3 separate regions of the Homo sapiens genome follow, and regions 1 and 3 are each linked to region 2. The links are contacts of gene promoters, found by promoter capture Hi-C in human tissues and cell types (Jung and others, 2019). All regions are on one chromosome and are shown on one strand. Each heading gives the region's core, a stretch centred on a gene start or on the middle of the fragment in contact. The rest is flanking DNA. Distances are from core to core; before and after follow the strand shown.

Region 1 (2,700 bases), core at 63-2,562, 480 kb after region 2:
GTGCGTGTGGAAAAAGCAGATCTATGCTTGCTACTTTGGCCAGAACACACACTCTTTGACTTCAGAGCAAAACATGCCTTTCATAAAAACATCAGAAAGTTTCTCCCCAGTTTACCAGGCCCTGCGAATGCCATTCTTCCGGCACTGGCTTAAAAGAGCACAGTTCAAAGTGTCCACATAGTTTCTAAAAGAGGCAGTGGTGCCTACACTTGGCACAAGAAAGAATCCAATGACACTTCTGTCTCAGGAAAATTCACCAGAGGCAGCCCAGGCTCGGAACACATGGCTGTCAACTGGTCTTAAGTGAGACATAGAGTGGAATGCATTTGAAATCTAAACAAGTGGCATCCTCATGACCTACTGCTGTCAGTCAGCTTTTCTCTCGGATCTTCTGTGCACCGAGGCAGGGGGCCTGGAATAAACAAGACCTCACTCTGCTTCACCGTTCTGCCTCCGCTTTCCCAGGGAGAGCAGAACAGTGGAAGCATCATTTAATCCAGTGTTCCTCAAACAGTTTTTAACACAGTACGGAAGTTTCTCGGCTTACGATGGGGTCATGTTCTGGTAAACCCATCATAAATTGAAAATATCGTCAGTCAAAAATGCATTTAACACAGTTAATCTACTGAACAGCATAGCTTAGCCTAGCTTACCTTAAACTGCTCGGAACTTACATCAGCCTATGGTTTGGTAAAATCCTCTAACACAAATTATTTTACAATAAAGTATTGAATATCTCATGTCATCTACTTAATACTGTATTAAAAATGAAAAACAAATGATTTCTACTGGCTGCATGTATCAATTGCACCACCATAAAGTTGAAAAATCACTAAGTTGAACCATCACAAGTTGTGGCCATCTATATATCTAGTCCCCTGTGGTCCTTCTCCCTCCTCTAAATACAGAGTCCCTGAGCTGCCTGGGATAGTCTTGGTTATGGGAACTGTCATTTTCTGCTGCAGCGGTACGAAAGAAGGTGTACCTCTAGCAAGGAAGAGGTGAAGGAGGATTCAGGAGATAGTGAGATATGAGTGCCAAAGTGAGTTCCTTCAGAGAGACATGCTGGTGTCAGTCAATAGTGGTATGGAAAACCCAGGAGCCTTGGGTTTGGCCCCAGCTCTCCTCGCACCCCCCTACTTTTTTCTTTTTCACTCAGAGTCTAACTGTTGCCCAGGCTGGAGTAGAGTGGCCTGATCACAGCTAACTGCAGCCTCGACCTCCAGGCTCAACTGATCCTCCTGCCTCAGCCTCCTGAGTAGCTGGGACTACAGGTGCACGCCACCACACCCGGCTAATTTTTGTAGATCCCAGCTCTATCACTACACAGAAATGAACTTTAGGCAAGTTACTCAATGGCCCTAGGTCTGGTTAAGATCACCTGTAATGTCTCCTTAAATTTTCTTTTGTGGGGGTGGGGAGGATGGAGTCTCACTCTGTTGCCCAAGCTGGTATGCAGTGGCGTGATTTTGACTCACTGCAACCTCCACCTCCCGGGTTCAAATGATTCTCCTGCCTCAGCCTCCCGAGTAGCTGGGATTACAGGCGTGAGCCACCACGCCCAGCCGTCTCCTTCAACTTTAAGGTTTTATTATCCTCCCCATCCCCTTTCCACCCTGACATAGCAGCCTCAAGCCAATGCAAGATATCATGAAATCTATGTCTCCTCTCATGCAAATCCACAGCAAAGAACAGTGGTGTGGAAATGCTGCCTGGTGATCTTCCACCCCTCCTTATATGAGGAGCCTAATTGTTGCACACCTAGGACTCAAACACCTCCCGGTGGCTTAAGATCTACACAAAGCCTAAGTAGTTAAGAGTTCGCTGGGGCCAGGTGTGGTGGGTCACGCCTATAATTTCAGCACTTTGGGAGGCCAAGGTGGGCAGATTACTGGAGCCCAGGAGTTTGAGACCAGCCTGGACATGGCAAAACCCCATCTCAACCAAAAAAATAATAATACAATTAGCTGGGTGTGATGTTGCACACCTGTAGTCCCAGCTACTTGGGAGGCTGAGGTGGGAGGACTGCTTGAGCCCAGAAGGTTGAGGCTGCAGCAAGCCATGATTGCACCACTGCACGCTAGCCTGGGTGACAGAGCCAGACCCTGTCTCAAAAAAAAAAAAGAGTGAGCTGGATCTGGGTTCAAAGCCCAGCTTTTACAGTAGGGCTATTAACTGTGTGACCTTGGGCTAATTAAATTCTCTGGGCTCCTACTATCAACATTATTCTGTGAGCCACTATTGCTGAGCATGAAAGACCATCCAAAAAGCACTTTGCCTTCACTCAGAATTGTTTCAGAACAGCCAAGTTCTCTGTGGCAATGTGGGCTGCTCCAGACACATGAAGAAGAAAAGAAAAAGGAACTGGAAAGAATGCAATGGAAAGGTCAAATATGAAAAATTATCAGCACCCTTTATGATTATCCTATGCTTTTACTATTTACGTATTTATTGGAGACAAGGTCTTGCTCTGTTGTCCAGGCTGGAGTACAGTGGCACGACTGTAGCTCACTACAGCCTCAAACTCCTGGGCTCACGTGATCCTTCTGCCTCAGCCTCCCGAGTAGCTAGGACTACAGGCATGTGCCACCATATCTGGCTTTTTTATTTTTACTTTTTTGGTAGAGGCAGGGTCTCACTATGTTGCTCAGGCAGATCTCAAACTCCTGGCCTTAAGCAATCGTCCCATCTTGGCCTCCC
Region 2 (2,700 bases), core at 71-2,570:
CGTTCCCTAAAATTAACATTAAAGACTCCAGGGTTTTTTGTTAACCAGCGCCTCCAGCCGCGGCTCTTCTCTCCTCTCTTTTGCCCTCCCCTTAAGTCCTGGGGCCCAGTTTTACCAGAGGAAGAGGGTACGCGCGGAAGAGGGCAGGGCACCCCTCCCCACGCCCAGCCCCGGCCCTTACCTGGTAGCCAGCTACCTCGGCACTGTGCCGCTCCTCCAGCTCCAGGATCTGCCTCTCCAAGGACTCGTTGGCCCCGCGCAGGCCCTCGATCTCGATGGTGCGCGCCTGCAGCTGGCGCCGATACTCGTGGATCTCCTCGCGGCTGGCCCGGATGGCCTCGGTGCTGCGCGCCGCCTGCTCGTTCAGGTTGGCAAACTTGGACTTGTACCATTCTTCCGCGGACTGCAGGTTCTTAGCGGCCAGGGACTCATACTGGGCGCGGATCTCCCTCAGAGCCGAGGTCAGGTCTGGTTTAGCCACAGTCACGTCCACCTCGGCCGCGGCCTGCGACGACGCCTGCAGCGTGGCCAGCAGCTCGGCTACCTCCTCGTCGTGCACCTGGCGTACGAAGGCCAGCTCGTCCAGCAGCGACTCCACCTTCTTCTCCAGGTCCAGGCGGGCCAGCGTGGCGCCGTCCACGTCGCGCTGCTGCGCCTTCAGGGCGCGCTCGGCGCCTTCGCGTCCGCGGCTCTCCTCCTCGCAGCGCGCCCGCAGCCGCTGCACCTCCTCCGCCAGCCCGTCGCGCTCCAGCAGGGCCTGCGAGCGAGCCGAGCTGGCCTCCTCCAGCTGCGCGCGCAGGTCGCGCAGCTCGCGCTGGAAGAGCTCGCCGACGCGCGACGGCTCAGCGTGGCGCTGTCGCAGCGCGGCCAGCTCGGCCTCCAACGCGCGGTTCTGCGTCTCCAGCTGATGCACCTTCTCGATGAACACGGCGAAGCGGTCGTTGAGGCCCTGCAGCTGCTCCTTCTCGTTGGTGCGGATGATCTTGTACTCGTTGGTGCGCGCCGCCGCCTGGCTCAGGTCCAGCCCGTCGGACGCCGGCGGCCGGCGATAGGCCAGGCCGAGGCCGAGCGACGAGGCCGAGGAGCAGGCGGCCGAGGAGGCCACATTGCTGCGGGACAGCGACTGCGAGCGGAAGCCGCCCGCGCCGCCGGCCCCAGAGAGGCGGGCGGACAGGCGAGAGCCATCCCCGAACACCTTGCGGTAGGAGGAGGAGGAGCACAGGTAGTGCTCCGAGCCGAAGCTCATGGTGCCGGGATCGGGGCCGGACGTGCGGCTTCAACGCGAGCTACAGAAGAAAGGAGAGGTGCGGCAGGCAGGGCGCGGCGGGGCGGTGCGCCCGGCTTTTAAGGCGCCGGGGCTGGGGCGGCGCGCTGGGGGCGGAGCTCCTGCTCAGAGTCTGGCCGGGAGAGGGAAGGGGGGCATCCAGGAGTGGGGGCGGGGAGGCGCAGTGACTACCGCAGCTGCGCGCGCGACGACCTGGGGCGCCGGGACAGGGCCATCTGCATCGGAGTCGCCCCTTTCCGCAGCGCTTCTCCCCAAGAATCGACTGCTTCGGAAGTGACTCGAGCGGAGGGGTGCCTAAACGACTGAGGTTTCCCATCCGGAAACCACACAGCTCTGTCGCATCCCTTGACCCTATCCCCTCTTCTTTAACCGACTGGGAGGTTAGGGGTTTCTGGGAGGTGTCCCCTACACCCACCCTCATCCTGAGGTGAGGCGCACAGAAAGCCTTCCCGAGGGCGAGGTCGTGTTTTTCCAGTTACAGTGAGGACCTGCAGAGCGAGCCCTTGTCCCCTTCCTCAGGGTCCCCAAGGAGAAAGGTGGGAGATGCTACGTCAGAAAGCATCTCTCCAGCTGCCCCTCTGCAGCTCCTGGGGAGGCTCCGGGCGGAAAGATGTTCAGCAAGTGCCTCTCCCAGAAGAGAGGGGAGATCAGTAAAGAAAGTGACCCCGAGCTGCGGAGAGTGGGGAGAAGCGGCGGTACAGAGGGGAAAAGAGGCCAGACTTGGAGAAGCAGGAGGCGCTGGGAATTGCTGGGGCTCATCGTTAGGGCACTAAAGCATGGCACAGGCCAGGACCACAAGCTGCTGGAAAGGGGGCTGCAGACTTTTGTGTTTAGAGCATTATATTTTAAAATATTTCGAAAGGAGCATTTTTAAACCAGGAGATTTCACCTGTAAAGAAATTGGATTTCTGGCTTCTTCTGAAAATGGGAAGAGCTGGGATGCCCACAGTGGCAGAGGTGAGTTGCCCTTGCCATTTGTATAAGAAGTGTGCTCTCCTGTTCACTACAGTCCCTGCCATTCTCCACTGAATTACGCCCCCCTTCTTAATTCATTTACTTTACCTCTCTGACCCTGTGGGCATTTGAGATTTCAGTTTGTGTAAATCCAGCAGGGCAGGTTCTCAACTGGCTTCAGAGAGCCACTCCCTGTGCAGATCTCTTTTTGGAGAAAAGAGATCCCTGCAAAAAGATTAAACTCCAGGAGTGGGGGAGAGTGCTGGTGACTGAGCCGGCCTCTTCTGCCACATGGTAGGGTTGGTGGGGCAGGGGGTGAGAATCAAAGAATGGAATCTGAAAAGATGAAGGCTGGGAGGGGTCAGTGTGGCGTCTGTAATATGTACCCACTTGCAAGCTTCTAATATCATTCAGGATGTGGATATGGCTTTGGAGAGGGAGTAGGAAGACCTTTTTAGTTA
Region 3 (2,700 bases), core at 127-2,626, 510 kb after region 2:
AGGCAGGAGAACGAATCGCTTGAACCCAGGAGGCGGAGGTTGCAGTGAGCCGAGATCATGCCAATGCATGTCAGCCTGGGCAACAGAGCAAGAATTCGTCTCAAAAAGCAAACAAACTAAAAAACCCCAAAGAGATGGATACTGAAATAATACGTAGGGTTTCAGTGGATAAAATGAGCACACTACGCAGAGCAGAGCATGAATAAAAGTATGGAAACAAGGACGCATGGGGCATACGTCCAAAGGCAGAAAAAGATGACGCAAAGATTAGTTGGGGGTAGAATGTCAAGGCCCTACACATGTACACATCTAATGAGTGAGTATCTTTGACCAGCACAGTTTTTCTTTCTGATGATTACAGTAGCAGCATGAATATCAAATATAGGAATTTCTATTTTAGTGGAGTATTTTAGGCCCTCATTTTGCTTGTTTGATATTTACTACTAAAATATGGTCAATCTTGGAGTTGATTTTGTTTTATTGCAGAGGTTGGGGGAGGTGGAAGGAAGATACAGATGAGAACTTTGGGGCTTTCCCAGTCATTGACCTCAACCTCACAGAATCCTGCTCTCGGTCTCCAAAGTGGGCCAGAAAGAGTCCTAGGTTCCTGACTCCACCCCATGTCATTGGTGCAGCCTCAGTCTTTTATTTTTTTTGAGAGACAGGGTCTCATTATGTTGCCCTGGCTGGGGTGCAGTGGCTACTTACAGGGGCCATCATAATACACTGCAGCCTCAAAATCCTGGGTTCAAGTGAGCCTCCCACCTCAGGCTCCTGAGTAACTGGGACTACAGGCATGTGCCACTGCACCCAGCTTTAAATGGAAAGAAATAAAAGTAGCAGAAGCTGAAACTGGTTTGCAACAGCTTCCTAAGGTTTCTGCCTCTTGCCTCCCCACCCCCCAAACAAGAAAATCATTTTGTTGTTGACAATCACTGCAGAAATATTTATTACTTTCGTAGGCTGCACAACAATTCGCTGCCATCTCCAGAATGTGCAGGGGTCTCTGAAACTCAACACTGTCAGTGGGCCTTCACCAATAGTTAATGGGCTCTCACTGGATCTGCAACTTGAGCTTCATCAAGTACAAAGTAGCCTTGTTTGTTTTCATATCAAAATGCTAGGTTCGTGTTTTTCCTACCCTGGAAACAGTTTAACCCCAACCATACTGGCAAGTAGCCAAGAATTACATGAAAATCAGCAGGCTGCAGCTCATAGCTATCTCCAGATACATTTCATGCCTCCTCACAATTGCTCTCCAAACCAAAGATCGGAATAAGAACAAAAGGAGGGATGTAGATCACACCAACTACATGAAACACACTCAGATGAAATTTGTTTTTTGCTTTTTTTTTTTTTGAGACAGAGTCTCGCTCTGTCGCTCAGGCTGGAGTGCAGAGGCGCAATCTCGGCTCACTGCAACCTCCGCCTCCTGAGTTCAAGCAATTCTCCTGCTCAGCCTCCCAAGTAGCTAGGACTACAGGCTCGTGCCACCATGCCCAGCTAATTTTTGTATTTTCAATAGAGACATGGTTTCACCATGTTGGCCAGGCCGGCTTTTTGTTTTTGAGACAGGATCTTGCTCTGTCACCCAAGCTGGACTGCAGTGGTGCGATCATGGCTCACTGTAGCCTCCAACCTCGCAGGCACAAGCAATCCTCCCACCTCAGCCTCCCAAGTAGCTGAGACTACAGGCGTTTACTACAATGCCCAACTTATTTTTTTTCCTTTTTTTTTTTTTTTTTTTTTGAGACAGAGTTTCGCTCTTGTTGCCCAGGCTGGAGTGCAATGGTGCGATCTCAGCTAACTGCAACCTCCGCCTCCCGGGTTCAAGAAATTCTCCTACCTCAGCTTCCTGAGTAGCTGAGATTACAGGCATGCGCACCATGCCCAGCTAATTTTTGTATTTTTAGTAGAGATGGGGTTTTTCCATGTTGGTCAGGCTGGTCTCAAACTCCCGACCTGAGGTGATCCGCCTGCCTCGGCCTCCCAAAGTGCTGGGATTACAGATGTGAGCCACTGCACCTGGCCCTGGCTAATTTTTTTTAATCTTTATAGAGGCAGGGTCTTCCTATGTTGCCAAGGCTGGTCTCGAACTCCTAGGTTCAAGTGATCCTCCTGCCTCGGCCAGATGTAATTTGGAAAGAGAACCATTAGGAAAATTAAGCTTCCAGGTCTCCACCAATCTGATTTCATCTTTCACTGTTATTTAAACTTTGGGTGAGATAAAGAGAGACATGGTCTATATTAAGTGGGAATGTGGGTACAATGGTGGCTGACCCAAGAAAAAGGCTAACAGCAAGGTCATTTTATGACAGACATCTCAACTCTCTCTGAGTCCTTAGAAGCAGTTCTGGGTGCTCTAAGCATTCTCACTGTCCAGAAAGCAATCATCTTGGTTGTGCTTTTATAGGAAAATCCACTCACTTCTTACATGCAACTCATAAACTCAACAAAGCCATTTCACACTTTATGTTTTAGATATTTCTTCTCAGCCCTACCTTCTCCTCTAAAGTAAGCAACTTAGGGGTAAGATGTGAAACGTTCACTTCCATATCCCTCACAGGACCAAGCACGATGCCTTGCACAAAGCAGGCCCTCAAGAAAAGATCGTCACATGAATGAAGAGATAAAGACGTGACTAAAGAGAGGATCCTGGCTGGGTGTGGTGGCACATGCCTGTAATGCCAGCACTTTGGG

The links. The method cuts DNA at HindIII sites, captures the fragments that hold promoters and counts their contacts. A contact is called where the count stands out against the background at its distance.
Region 1: a contact is called between a fragment that was not itself captured here and the fragment with the promoter of INA in region 2, in 2 of the 25 tissues and cell types used here (bladder and spleen).
Region 3: a fragment that was not itself captured here is called in contact with the fragment with the promoter of INA in region 2 in 3 of the 25 tissues and cell types used here (IMR-90 fibroblasts, lymphoblastoid cells and spleen).

The regions. Positions count from the first base shown.
Region 1 is chr10:102,793,199-102,795,898 of GRCh38, reverse strand. All of the region lies in intron 1 of WBP1L (WW domain binding protein 1 like), which reads right to left. Among named protein-coding and RNA genes, the nearest start is that of CYP17A1-AS1, 38 kb to the left of the region's middle. The HindIII fragment of the contact is 6,115 bases long and covers 1-2,700 here.
Region 2 is chr10:103,275,758-103,278,457 of GRCh38, reverse strand. It overlaps INA (internexin neuronal intermediate filament protein alpha), which reads right to left and starts at 1,320. Exons shown (of 3, transcript NM_032727.4): 1 at 182-1,320. The coding sequence starts at 1,246. RefSeq lists an enhancer at 301-905. The HindIII fragment of the contact is 4,832 bases long and covers 1-2,700 here.
Region 3 is chr10:102,765,491-102,768,190 of GRCh38, reverse strand. The region is part of intron 1 of WBP1L (WW domain binding protein 1 like); the gene reads right to left. Among named protein-coding and RNA genes, the nearest start is that of WBP1L, 23 kb to the right of the region's middle. The HindIII fragment of the contact is 6,005 bases long and covers 1-2,700 here.